3 separate regions of the Homo sapiens genome follow, and all the other regions are linked to region 2. Evidence: promoter capture Hi-C in 16 types of primary human blood cells and fetal thymus (Javierre and others, 2016). All regions are on one chromosome and are shown on one strand. The core of a region is centred on a gene start or on the middle of the fragment in contact, and the rest is flanking DNA. Distances in the headings are between cores, read along the strand shown.

Region 1 (2,700 bases), core at 199-2,698, 230 kb after region 2:
CTTAAAATTCTGAGCAGGGCTGGGTGCGGTGGCTCACACCTGTTATCCCAACACTTTGGGAGGCTGAGGCAGGAGGATCACTTGAGGCCAGGAGTTCAAGACCAGCCTGGGCAACCTAGTGATATGCCCCATCTCTACAAAAAACAAAAAAATTACCCGGATATGGTGGTTACAGTGAGCTATGATGGTGCCACGGCACTCCTGCCTGGGTGACAGAGCAAGACCCTGTCTCCAAAAATAAATAAATGAATGAATAGCTAAATAAATTTTGAGCAGCATCACATCTGATAAAATTTTCAGCTTCAAGAAGCTGAAAATGATTTTTCAAAGTTTAACATCAGGCCAGGTGTGGTGGCTCACGCCTGTAATCCCAGCACTTTGGGAGGCCGAGGCGGGCAGATCACTTGAGGACAGGAGTTCGAAACCAGCCTGGCCAACATGGTGAAACCCCCATCTCTACTAAAAATACAAAAATATTAGCTGGGCATGGTGGCACGCGTCTGTAATCCCAGCTACTCAGGAGGTTGAGGTAGGAGAATCGCTTGAACTTGGGAGGCGGAGGTTGCAGTGAGCCGAGATCACGTCACTGCACTCCAGCCTGGGTGACAGAGCAAGACTCCGTCTCAAGAAAAACAAAAACAAAGTTGGGCATCATTATTATCTAGAGGAAAAAAGGCCTTTCAGTTACAAGAACAATATTATTATACATATTTTTATATTAGAAAACTATTTTATATTTTATAATGTTATAAAATATGTCTTATATTAGTATATTAGAGAAAATGAAAGCTAATTCAGCTGGCACATAAAAATGCAGATCCATCGCTCATTCACCTTCCCCACAACACGTATTAAAATTCAGACTCATTTAACCATTTCTCTTGAAAACATTAGAAAATGGCTCATCCCATAGATACAGGGAAAAATTAATCTGAAAAATCAATACTAAACCATTCTTATCATGACATACTCATCTTTTTCTGGGAAATGTAATTTAGTAACCTGCAAACTAAACAGCCCACTGGAGTTCGAGGTCCAACAGTCCTTATCTTAAGAACATACCCGGACAAATGCAGCTGTCTTTCTGGAATGATTTCCTTTCATTACTTTTCTTGTCTCCATTGCCAACCGGTTCACACTCTGAATTTATTAATAAAATAGAAATGGTAATGAAGCGATGGCCGATTCAGATGAGTGTCTTCCATAGAGATCTCAACATTAACTACATACAGGTCAATGAGAACAAGCTTTCTAGGACCAAGACTGGTTAGCACTAAACCTTGAAATGCCAAAGGGGTCATCAGGCCTGATCCAATCATGGCTTGAGCAAACATCTCCAAGAGGGTAGAACAAAAGGCAGTGTTGGCTACGTCAGTCATGCCTTTTGATCAGCATTTTAGTGACCATTTTCTGGCTTAATGAATAGCTGGGGCTCACTTACTCCATTTCCAGAAATCCTACCACACCAAAGTTTAAGAATTTAGAAATCTTAAGAGACAACTCCAAAGCACACCATTTAGACAATCAGACCACACCATTCAGCTATACAGTACCAACAATAAGAACAATAATGATAGTAGCCACATCATCACTAATAGTGTTCCAAGCACTATTTAAGAGCTATACATTCATTGGTTCACTTAAGCTTCATAATCCCAGGGTGGATACTATTACCTCCCCTGATTTCCAGATAGTTTCTAAATTTAGGTCTTAAGTTTAGTTGTGCTAAATAACTTGCTAACCAGCAAACAAATACATATGAAAGTTATTCTCCTTGAATAGACATGAAATAATGAAAGAGCCTTAGGGAACCCTTCCACAGATATAAAAAGTTTGGACCTGTGGTTCCCAAACGGTGCACCATGGCACCCTGGGGTGCTGCAGCAAACTCACAGGGGCGCCACCGTTTTTTAGGGAATATTTGTTTGTCGCACATTGTAAACAGCAATACTTGTTTGTTGCACGTTGTAAAAAGCACTGGTGCAAGGCTGATTTGATGATGGACTGCTTTACATCCCTTATAGCCACATCATATATTTGTAAAACTTGTTTTTCGTGGCTACTGTGATCAAAAGCAAGTTTAATCGCTGTGCAAGAATAAATGTAAAAAACAGTGAATGTAAAACAAGAAATAAGAATAGCATCACCAATCTAACTCCAAAATTTTATGAAGCTGTGATATGCTTCATAAGTACACACCCATCATTACTAATTATGGTTAAGAAAAAAATTGGCAGGGCTTGATGTTTATGCCTGTAATCCTAGCACTTTGGGACGCCGAGGCAGGTGGATCACCTTAGGTTAAGAGTTCAAGACCAGCCTGGCCAACATGGTGAAACCTCATCTCTACTAAAAAATACAAAGAATTAGCCGGGCATGGTGGCAGGTGCCTGTAATTATAGCTACTCGGGAGGCTGAGGCAAGAGAATCACTTGAACCCGGGAGGTGGAGGTTGCAGTGAGCCAAAATCGCACCATTGCACTCTAGCCTGGGCAACAAAGCAAGAACTCCAGCTCAAAAAGAAAAGGAAAAAAAAGTATTATTTTTCTTTCAATTTATATATATACTTTCTTCAAATGGCTGTCAAGTTGTTAGACATAAATACTTAAGTTGTCTGAACCTAACTTTTTTTTTTTTTTTTTTTTTTGAGATGGAGTCTCCCTTTGTTGCCTAGGCTAGAGTGTAGAGTGCAGTGGCGCG
Region 2 (2,700 bases), core at 5-2,504:
TCTCCCCTTCCTGCAGCCCCCGGGAGAGGGGAGCAGGGGTCCGTCCTATCCCTTTTGGTCTTATGTGGCTGGGATGGTTGCGGCGACGGGGGTAGAGATTGGGGGGCGCACCGCGGAGGGAGAAAGGAAATCTCACCCTGAGAATCTGGAGTGCAGGGAAGGGATGCTGCTCAAAGGTCTGTTTCTGGCTTTGGCGGGGGGCCACCTGAGACTGCCAGGGTTTGATGGTCTGAAGGTCACCCAGGGAACCAGCCCCATATGGGGTGCCGGAGCGCAGCTCCCAGGCCTGGTCGAAGCAATGCGACCTCGGAGAGGCCTGAGGACTAGGACGGGGTGAGGGGGACTCAGAGACGGCTGCCCCGGACCCCTCCTTCAAGCAGGTCCCACGGCCGCCCAGCGGACACGCGTCCGGGCTGTGCCCTGACCGTCTGCGGAGCGCACGGCCAGTGGCCCGGGCCGCTGAGTGTGTGAGCCCTGAAGGGCAGTGGACATGTGCGTACGTGGGTGATGTGTGCGGTAGGGGTGGTGGCGATCCTGCGTAGGGACCCACGTGAGGGGTGCACCGACTGGACGTGTGTGTTTCGAGGGGCCAAGGAAGCGGGTGTTGGTCCCAGTGTGCGTAAACGGACAACGACATCTGGGAGTTGGGCAGTGAGGAGAGAGAAGAGTGTGTCCAGGAGGAACCTGCCTGGAGGAGGCCTAGCGGTGTGTGTGCGCCTAGGTGTATACCGGGGCGTTGGTGACTTCGAGAGGCACCGGGCGGGATCGATCCTCTCTGCGTCCTGGACCTGGTGCTGGTGTGTTTCGGGGAAGTTACTGCTTATGAACCCCCCTTGGAGCGTGGCCTGGGGGCAGGAAGGCTTCCGCGCTGGGACCCCTGGGTCGCGATACCTCCCTCGGTAAGTGTATTGGCTAGGGGAGTGTTCCCGCAAATGGATCTACCCTGGGGAGTTGCCCGGCTCGTCTGGACTGCTTACGGGCGCACTGACGTTGTGGGGGGAATGTCCCCGAATTGGGGGCACGAGGTCGGGGGAATCGTCTCTGAGATCCGGGCTAGAAGCTACGAGCTTGGGCTCCGGGGGTGCATGCAGACGGCGCCTAGCCCCGCGCGGAACCGCCGGCGGGACCGGGGGTGGGGCTCGGAGGCCCGGGGGCGGGGCCGGCCGGGGGCGGGGGCGGGGGCGGGGCCGCGGCCGCTGCAGCAGCGCGGGCCGGGCCAGGGGGCGCCTCGCGCGGCAGCGACTCTGGCAGGCGCTGCAGTGAAGCTGGACCCGCAGGCGGGCGTGCGTGGAGCGGGGGCCGCGGCCGCGCCGCAGAGATGTGACTCGGGCCGAAGGCCAGCTGGAGCGTCGGCGCTGCGGGGCCGCGGGGGTCGGTAAGTGCGAGCTGCGCCGATGCAGTGGAGGACGCTGTGGGGACCCCAGAAACTTTTCCCGCCGTGGATTTGGGAGAATTGGGGGGTCCGCTTCTTGTGTTTTTCTAAGCGCCCCCCCAACCCAAGCCAGGGAGTTTATTGCTGGGGGAGATGTGGAATCTGGGCGAGGGGAACCACGGTGCGACGAGAGCAGAGCCGTAGAGGGGTGGGCGGGGGAGGGGAGGATCTGGGGACCTTTACGGGGGGAGGGAGACTGTGCCCGGACCAGGTAGAGATCCAAGTCTCCCAGGAGGGTGTGGGGGCGACCACAGGTGAAGGGCAGCTGGGAGGGTAAAGGAGCCCAGCCGTGTCCTAGTGACTCGTCATGTGTGAGGAGCTGCGGGCTGGTCCTGGGGCCGCGTTGGGGGCTGACTGTGGACAGGGCAGACGCAGCCGGGGGCACAAGGGCTGGACTTTGGGGGTGAACAGCCGCACCTGTCGCGGGGGCTGGGGGTCAAGCCCGCAGCCGGCTTGAGTGCGCATTACTCAGCAAGGGGAGGGGGGGACACGGCGGTGGGAGATGGCAGAGCTGAGACCTGGGCTGGGGACGAATGACGGGGAGGGGTGGGGAGGAGGGGGCGGCTGCATACAATGGCGGGGGGGGCAGTGGCGTTTCCCTTCCAGACAGGGGGCACTTGGACCTCTGGAAGAGGCGGCTAGGCTGGAGATAAGGACTAGACCTGTTCTCGGTCCCCTCTCCTTGGGGGACACAGGCTTCCAGCCCCACAAGGACCCCACACATCCCGGGGTCCCTAGCGCTTAGGCCGAAAAGGGAGCGCGCGGGAGGAGCCCGCACCCGCCTTGGCCCCGGGCAGCCGGTTGAACAGCCTGGGAAGGGGCCAACGACCTTGCCCCAGAAATCTCCCCCGTGCAGCGGGTTCACTCCTCCGTCCTTGCTCTGTCACACCCAGGCCTAGCCAGTCCTCCCTTTCCGTCCCCCGTTCGCTAAGGGGGCGGCTCCTTGGAGCGCGGACAAAGGCCCCTGGAGTGTGGCGGGCAGCGGCGTCCCCGCCTGGGGCCCCAGCCCACGCGCCACATTGGCCGCCCAACTGCACCAGGCCGGGGGGCACCTGAACAGAGCCCAGAAAGCCCTGGGGGACCCCGCAAAGACAAGAGAAGTGGGGGAGGGATCTGGCACAAAAACCCCGGCACTTCAGCCAAGGAACCTTCTTAATTCAGAAGTTTCTTCGGTGGGGACTCGGGCTTGCGGAGGATCCAGGCTTTGAGTTAAACTGCATGCAAATGACATGTAAATAGAATGCAAATTGGCATCTGTCGTTTGGAAG
Region 3 (2,700 bases), core at 178-2,677, 250 kb after region 2:
GAGACAGAAGAATTGAAGGTGGAGGTTGCAATGAGCCAAGATCGCACCACTGCACTCCAGCCTGGGCAACAGAGCAAGACTCCGTCTCAAAACAAAACAAAAACAAAAACAAAAAAAAACAAATGTTAACAGCTAGTAAATCTGGTTAAAGAATAATAGGAATTCTTTGAGCTTTCTTTTAACTTTCCAATAAGCTTAAATTTATTTCCACATAAAAAAATTATGCTTAAGCCCAGGAAGTCGAGGCTGTGCCAAGCGGTGATCGCACCACTGCACTCCAGCCTCCGTGACTGAGCGAGACCCTGTTTCAAAAAAAAAGGAAAAAACAAAGTTGATTTAACTAAAAATACTCGCAGTTTACTTACTGGTGACAACAATGAAGACAACGCTTATTGAGCATTTACCACGTGCCAGGCCACTGTGTGAGGGCTTCACTTCATCCTCACAGTAACTCTCAGGTAGCACTATTACTATCTCCATTTCACAGGTGAGAAAACTGGGGCACAACAAGGTTAAGTAACTGATCAAAGGGCACATGGCTAGGATATGGCAGAGCTATGATTCAAACACAGGATTATGTGCCTTTATAGCCTGACCCATACAACACGCCTATTTAATTCAACAGAACAAAATTCCTAACAATGTTGAAATGAGAAATGCAAATCTGTTACCTGGGGGTAGGAATCTTCAAATGCACGATCTGGAGTCATGTGCTTGATGACATCTGCCAAAACGGTATTCACCTCTCGTTTCTAAGCAGGAAAAAGGAACCAAACCTGAATTAGACACTGTATGGCAACTGCTGACCATGTTCCTGGGGGAAAGGACTAACGTATTCAGAATATATCACACACCTTCCAGGAAATCAATTTCAGTATTCTGCTGAAAATAACGGAAGGGAGGAAATCTCACTCATATCACCCGGTCTAGTACCACAGCCCCACACCTAGTCAGGACTAAACGCTCTTCTCAAAAGTTCTGGGGCTTTACATTGTCTCTGCTTTCCCAGAGTGATGGTTGAATCGGCCGTGCCTCTCTCCACCTGCCTGTCCCAGGCCCTCCCTCAGGTGCCTGCAGAGAGAACAGTGAAGCACTGCGGAAGACTGCAGGCTCACCCTTACAAGCTGTCTGACCTAACTGCTCACTGTTCACTTTTGTCACCTATAGCAGGAGTCAGCCAACTGCAGCCCAATCCAGCCCAGGGCCTGTTTTTATAAGGCCCACAAGCTAAGAATGGCTTTTAAGTCTCTATAATTAACTGCTGATTTATAGAAAATACAAAAGGCAGAAGAGCACGCCAGACACCATCACAAGGATGCAATGGGAAAAATCCAGTCTTTGCAACTCTATAGAGCAAAAGACCCAATTTCTTCAACAAATAAATTACAGGGAAAGAAAGGGGAAGGAGAGAAGGAGACAGTTTGAGAGAGAACTTATACATCAAAAGTATCCTAAAATGTCTATTGCAATGGAGAAGCCTTATTTTCAACCAGATTTCAACAAATAAACTTAAAAAAAATGAGACAATTGGGGAAATCAGAATATTGACTGGTACTGATGATATTAAATAATTAGTAACTCGGCTGGGTGCAGTGGCTCATGCCTGTAATCCCAGCACTTCGGGAGGCTGAGGCAGGTGGATTGCTTGAGGTCAGGAGTTCGAGACCAGCCTGGCCAACATGGTGAAACCCCGTCTCTACTAAAAATACATAAAATTAGCGGGGTGTGGTCACACACACCTGTAGTCCTAGTTACTTAGGAGGCTGAGGCAGGAGAATCACTTGAACCCAGGAGGCGGAGGTTGCAGTGAGCTGAGATCATGCCACTGCACTCCAGCCTGGGTGACGGAGTGAGACTCCATCTCAAAAACAGAAGAAAAAAAAAATTAGTAACTTTTTTCCTTAGAATAATGTATTTAGATTTGGTTTAAGGAAGTGAACCCTGCAACCTGGGCAACATGGCAAGACCCCATCTCTACATCTCCACATGTGCCTGTGGTCCCAGCCACTCGGGAGGCTGAGGCAGGAGCATTGCCTGAGCTCAGGAGGTCATGGCTGGAGTGAGTGACGATTGCACCACTGGACTCCAGTCTGGGCAACAGAGTGAGATCCTGTCTGTCAATCAATCAATCAATGGAATCTTTATATTTTTACAGGTGTGCTGAAATACTGACAGATGAAACGATACAATGTCTGAGATATGCTTCAAAATATTCCAGGGGTCAGGGGACATGGTAATGATATAAATCAAACAAGATCTGTCATAAATTGATAATTCCTGATTGATGGGTACAAGGGAGTGCATATGTTTTACATTTCCATAATAAAATGTAAAATAAAAATAGGACCAAAAAAAACCACAAAAATCAATGGACCAACATTTACCTAATGCTCAAAACGAGGCAACATCAATTTTGGTGTTAGAGGCCAGGATGGTGTCTACCTTCACCTCCTCAAAGGCTGTTGTGACAGGGAGAGGCAGTTCTGGGGGTTCTGCGGGGTCACTTATTTCCTATTTCTTACTCTGGATGGTGATTATATGGTCATACCTTGTGAAAATTCATTGAGCAGCAAACTTATGATACGTGCACTTTTTTGCATGTGTGCTTGGCTTAGTCTGTTTGGGCTTCTCTACCAAAATACCATAAACCAGGAAGCTTGTAAACAACAAAAATGTAATTCTCACAGTTCTGGAGGCTGG

The links. Contacts are between HindIII fragments. The CHiCAGO score rates a contact against its expected background, and 5 or more counts as called.
Region 1: a fragment that was not itself captured here is called in contact with the fragment with the promoter of GPRC5B in region 2 in 10 of 17 cell types (M0 macrophages, M2 macrophages, endothelial precursors and 7 more); the score reaches 15.2 in M0 macrophages.
Region 3: a fragment that was not itself captured here is called in contact with the fragment with the promoter of GPRC5B in region 2 in 13 of 17 cell types (endothelial precursors, total CD4 T cells, M2 macrophages and 10 more); the score reaches 14.7 in endothelial precursors.

Annotation. Positions count from the first base shown.
Region 1 is chr16:19,648,822-19,651,521 of GRCh38, reverse strand. It overlaps VPS35L (VPS35 endosomal protein sorting factor like), which reads right to left. Exons shown (of 31, transcript NM_020314.7): 25 at 1,063-1,140. Among named protein-coding and RNA genes, the nearest start is that of KNOP1, 68 kb to the left of the region's middle. The HindIII fragment of the contact is 398 bases long and covers 1,250-1,647 here.
Region 2 is chr16:19,883,402-19,886,101 of GRCh38, reverse strand. It overlaps GPRC5B (G protein-coupled receptor class C group 5 member B), which reads left to right and starts at 1,254. Exons shown (of 4, transcript NM_016235.3): 1 at 1,254-1,375. RefSeq lists a silencer at 701-995 and an enhancer at 2,511-2,700. The HindIII fragment of the contact is 5,537 bases long and covers 1-2,700 here.
Region 3 is chr16:19,631,144-19,633,843 of GRCh38, reverse strand. It overlaps VPS35L (VPS35 endosomal protein sorting factor like), which reads right to left. Exons shown (of 31, transcript NM_020314.7): 19 at 672-752. Among named protein-coding and RNA genes, the nearest start is that of VPS35L, 77 kb to the right of the region's middle. The HindIII fragment of the contact is 2,462 bases long and covers 197-2,658 here.